Regions from separate parts of the Homo sapiens genome. Here region 1 is linked to region 2. Evidence: promoter capture Hi-C in human tissues and cell types (Jung and others, 2019). All regions are on one chromosome and are shown on one strand. The core of a region is centred on a gene start or on the middle of the fragment in contact, and the rest is flanking DNA. Distances in the headings are between cores, read along the strand shown.

Evidence for each region. Contacts are between HindIII fragments. The study calls those that stand out against the background at their distance.
Region 1: a contact is called between a fragment that was not itself captured here and the fragment with the promoter of DCC in region 2, in 1 of the 25 tissues and cell types used here (stomach).

What each region holds. Positions count from the first base shown.
Region 1 is chr18:52,294,091-52,296,926 of GRCh38, forward strand. No RefSeq gene overlaps it. Among named protein-coding and RNA genes, the nearest start is that of DCC, 45 kb to the right of the region's middle. The HindIII fragment of the contact is 4,227 bases long and covers 1-2,836 here.
Region 2 is chr18:52,338,791-52,341,608 of GRCh38, forward strand. It overlaps DCC (DCC netrin 1 receptor), which reads left to right and starts at 1,407. Exons shown (of 29, transcript NM_005215.4): 1 at 1,407-2,088. The coding sequence starts at 1,998. The HindIII fragment of the contact is 11,241 bases long and covers 1-2,818 here.

The DNA of each region.
Region 1 (2,836 bases), core at 84-2,583, 45 kb before region 2:
TTGCCTAAATCAAAGCATTACTTTTTACCAAGGAGTTAGAGGAGAAGAGCCAGAGTCCCGCAGAAGTAGAAGAACATACTTAAAATGAAAAGTGAGATGTATTGTATGGCAGAATTACATAAGATTTGCTGTTATTGGATTCAAGTTGACCTAATACTACCTTTCCAGTTTGTATAATACTTACTCAACTCTTTATAATTCTTTAAAAATGATTTGATAAAAATCCCATTCAGAGTATTATTACATTAGATGAGACATTAATTTTCTTGTTAAACCTCAGAAATGTGCAACTGAATTCCTTTAGGTATTTAGAACACTCTTAATTATATCTTTAAGATTTATTTTTTCAGTTTTATTACAAAACAAAAGTGTAAATTTAAAAAGATAAATTGGAACTATAAAAATAGACAAGATAAAACTCATACATGATACATTCTCTACATGAGTAAATATCCTAATTAAAAGTGAGATTCAATCACCATATATAATTCCAAAGATGTCTACTAAAGCCAGAACTGGAATGATAATTAGAGATAAAGATTTGTTTAAATGTTCTGTCTTTAAATATTTTTATATTATTGTGTATAATGGCCCTCCCATATTAATAAGAATCAAAGTAGAATTCAACTCCTACAGGTGAGCCTGGTCAAATGTCCCCATTCAAGGACATCTTCATGTCAGTACATGCATGGATAAGATTCATTTTGTCCATGCCCTGGCATAGAGTTTTCGATGAGTTCGTGTTTCTGCAGGATCAGTGGGCTATAGTCATGTAGTTATGACTATAACTCTGCTTGCCTAGCTAGCTAACTACTCTCATTTCTAGAATCAAAAGAGAAAAATGTCTATGTATGAGAATAGAGTTGCTCTTCTGGATTTCAAGAATATGACAAATGTGGGTTATTTCATTAGTATTTTGAAAAGGTTGTCAATATTCCACCTCAGAATGAATGTAGATCTATGGTATATTAGTCCATTTGCATGCTGCTGATAAATATATACCTGAGACTGGGAAGAAAAAGAGGTTTAATTGGACTTACAGTTCCACATGGTTGAGGAGGCCTCAGAATCATGGTGGGAGGTGAAAGGCACTTCTTATATGGCAGTGGCAAGAGAAAATGAGAGAGATGCAAAAGGGAAAATCCCTGATAAACCCATCGGATCTCATGATACTTATTCACTACCACAAGAACGGTATAAGGGAAACTGTCCCCATGATTCAAATTATCTCCCACCAGCTCCCTCCCACAACACGTGGGAATTATGGGAGAGCAGTGCAAGATGAGATTTGGGTGGGGACACAGAGCCAAACTATATCATATGGCCTCCCTATGGGACGTTATACAACTCTCTCATTACTCAATATTTACTGAGCATCTATTATGTGTCAGGCATTGTACTAGATACAACGTGACAAGCAAGACATGTTTTCCATTTTATGTGAGGCCTTTAAGACCCCCTGTGGAAACAATACCATTAGGTATTCAGTGTCACTCTGCACAGCAAGAAGCAAGGGAGAAAATAGTCCCTTACTATACACATTTAATTCTGAGAATCTGAGCTGTGGCATGATTTGGGCCCATTTCTGTGAGTAGGTGGGATGCAACTATTCAAAGAAGAATTTTAACTTCACAAAAATATTTCTATTCTACTCTCTACTTGATAATTTAAAAAAAACAGGGTGCAATCAAAAAGGAGCCCATGTTTTAAAATAAAATGTATAACTCCATTAATATATGTGTGCATGTGTATGTGTGTGTATGTGTGTATATGTGTATATCTATGTATATATGTGTATGTATACATTAGTCCACATAAACACATATATAAATATATGTAGGGAGTGATTAATGCTTTACATAATGGAAGAAATTAAAATATTTGAATATATAAATAAAATGTATATATAAACATAAAAATGAAAGAGTGGTTACAAAAATATTAATGATAATCTCAAAATTGTGGGATAGTATGTGACATTTTCTTTCATACTTTTTTATGTTGTTAGGATGTTTTACTATAAGCATGTATTATATATATATAATTAAACATAAGTAAAACTGTTTATTGAGAAAAGAAGACCTGTGTAGCAATGCTAACTACCTGGCTCTCACCATAAAATATAAACTCAAATGGACTGTCACTGAGATTTTTTTCAAGTATGCGGTGAAGAGAAACAAGATAATCATTTGAAAAACATGCAATTTGTTCACTTCCAATGTCTTGTTTTAGCTCTGGACTCAACCAGACCATTCCAGAGCTGTGTACATGGGTTATCTTGCCTTATTTTTATCTTTCCCAGACCCCACCACTGGCATTTTGACTTTGTATTAAATGAAGCAAACAAAATTCCTGAAAAACTAACATACCAAAGATTTGCAACATAAAGGTACACAAAGGAACCTTCTGTTACACAAAATTAGGAAAAAAGCATTCTTTCTCTTAGAATTTGGTATGCTTTATGAAGTATGTGAATTTTGACACTTGTGACATGTCCTATTTTGCTTTGACTGAAAGGAATCTTTTAGCACAGACATTTGTAATCTAAATCTAATTACAATATATCAGTGTTTTTCAACCTTTTTCCCCCATTATTGCCTCCCTAGGGAGCCTTTTAAGGCATACTTTTTCTAGCCAATTATGGCTCCCCGTGAAATTTTAATACTACAGATATACTATATATCTGTTTATGTATTGTATGTATATCTGTGCTTTATACATAAAGAGTAAGATTTTTTGCACCCCCTCAAGCATTAATGCCTCATCAAAAATACAAGCTATACAGTAATAGATGACTTACAGGCACTTACATAGACATTTCTCTGTGTTAAGTTGC
Region 2 (2,818 bases), core at 157-2,656:
CAGGAAGGAATGGGCATGACTAGGGATCTAAAACACTGTTGTCCAGTTCCAGCATCATAGGAGTTTCCCTGATGATGATTTTATCCTGGATTTTTCATGCTTTCCCTCACGCCTTTCTTCTTAAATAGATGTTCACATTCTCTCTGCTCACAGCCTGGTGAGCATGGGAGGGTGACAAGAACAGGTGGGGAAGAATCTAGTAAGGAATGGTCTGAATCCACAGCTGAACATCTCCTTAAACGACAGAATTTTACCAGAATGACATTTCTATTCATTATCCTTCCCGGCCAAATTAATTGGTTTGTAAGTTCACTTATTCTGCAGAAACGTATTGGCATGTGCAGAATTCCAAGTTCTATGCTAGCATCTGTGAGGAGTGCAAAAATGGATGGCATACAACCTCTCTCTTCTCAAAGGAGCTTGAGTTCCCGCAGCAGAGACAAGTTATGCAAAGGAACTCAGCTTAAAACAGTTTCCTGAAAGGGCTTTACTGTTCACCCTTCCTAAGTTTCCTGCTGTGTGTGTGCTTGTGTGTGTGTGCACACACACGCGTGTGTATGGTTGCTTCACTTTATCTGCCAGGGACTGGAGAAATGTCTCTCTTGTTTTCCCAGAGCACCCCCTCCATTACGTGAACCATCATATTTATCACGATACTTTATAATTATCCATTTAGCTTCTCTCCTGACGGATCACAAACCCCTTGAGGATAGAGACTGAGTCTCACTGGATGTCCCAACTATTTCCTGGGAGCCAACAGAACACCTGGAACATGATAAGTGCTTTTAAATATGTTAAAGAAAACAATTGCGAGAGAAGAGAGAACACAGACGACATGAGACGTCCTACAAAAGGAGGCCCCTTAGCTATTATGTCAGGAAATAACTCTGGCCTTTGTCCTGTCCGCTGTGTGTTTCAGGATCTCGATTTCCCTCCCGTCCTAGAAGGGAGTTGGATCAGGTGATTCTTTCCAAATGAAAAATTGTATTTTAAATAATGCCAAGGGCAGAGAAGGAAGTAAACATCCTGGCCACCTCCTCCGCCTTAAACGCCCGCCTAGGTTTTACAGTCAAATACCAATAATTTCCTGAAGGCTGAGTGTCAAACACGGTCGCTGCAAAACCTCCAGACGCTCAGGATGTTCGCAGGCTCCATTGACAAAAGTGACTTCCCACGCTTTGCCCACAGAGGGCATCCCTGCGCATTGATACGCAGACCAGGCAAATGCAGCTCCTGGAAGCCTCCTCGGTCCGCTCTTTTTTCCCTAAGCCATAGTCTGTCTGCCCCCACCCCCTTCCCGTGGAATCTTTGCCTGATCCAGTTCGTTTCCCTCCGGTCTCCACATTTTCCCTTCCAGCCCTCCACTTCTCCGGATCAATGTGTAGTACGGTTCCAACTCCCAGCTCGCACACCGCTGGCGGACACCCCAGTAACAAGTGAGAGCGCTCCACCCCGCAGTCCCCCCCGCCTCTCCTCCCTGGGTCCCCTCGGCTCTCGGAAGAAAAACCAACAGCATCTCCAGCTCTCGCGCGGAATTGTCTCTTCAACTTTACCCAACCGACGACAAGGAACCAGCCTCAACCTTTTAATGCACAGCCCGGCCACAGGATTGCCTTCCATCTCCTCTTGGTCCCTCCTGGATGTGGTTTATTGATGACTTGCGAGCCCCTCAGAGAGCTGTCTTCCCTCCTCTGGCTCCCTCCGTTTCCTTGAGTTAGTTTTCTAAGGTTTTACCGGGGCTCGGGATCTCTTGGACCGAATGGAACTTTTTGCTGCCTGCTTTTGCTGCTGATTCTGTCAGTGGACAAGGAAAAAGGCTTCGAAGGCAGCAGAGGCGCAGGGGAGGTGGAGAAAGAGGTGGAGGAAGAGGACGAGGAGGAGGAGGAAGCCGAAGGGGCTCGGCGCGTGTGTGTGCATGTGTGCATGCGTGTGTGAGTGCATGTGTGTGAGTGCTGCCGCTGCCCGCGACCCCTGGCCCCGAAGGTGTTGGCTGAAATATGGAGAATAGTCTTAGATGTGTTTGGGTACCCAAGCTGGCTTTTGTACTCTTCGGAGCTTCCTTGTTCAGCGCGCATCTTCAAGTAACCGGTAAGTGGCTCTTTCCTTTCTTCTCGTCGCACCCCCTTCCGTACCCCACTTCCCTTCTCATTTCATTTGGCGAGTAGTAGAATTGGGGTGGGGGATAGCAAGAGATTTGGCGCTTGCGCTGCCCCCATTTGCGCACCGATGATAAAAGATAGAAGAGTTTTTTTCTTCCCTGGGGGCGGATGATGGTGGGGGGGTGGTACAAGGGGCGCCCCTTCGCTGTTTTAAAATCTGATGCTTCACGCATTTTTGCTTCTGCAAATACTTGGGTTGGTTTGGAGAGCCGGCGGGCTGGGGCAGGTGCTGGGGATATCGTTGAAAGGAACTGGGCTGGGTCCTTAAAGCCCCAGAAACCTACCAAGTGGGGAGGATTGGGGCAACAGGAGCAGGCGAGGAGGACATCCAGGGGCTTTGAGGAAGTCTGCGCAGAATGTAGATGGTGGGGCTGAGTCGTTGGTGTGTGAATACATCTCCTTTTGGTTTGGATTTTTGGACTTGGTGATTGAGAATAGGGAAAGGGACAGCTAATATGTTTTGGTACTTCCAAGGAGGGGATCCTGGTACTGAAGGAGGCACAGAGTTGCCAAGGAGGAGGGGAGGTGTGTTTAATATTGTTTTATTTTTTAACGGTGAATGTAGTTCGCAAGCTGAGTCTCCATATAGCTCCAGGACACCTCCAAACTCCAAGTGATTGATATTCCAGAGAACCGGCGCCCTGACCCTGGCACTTGCC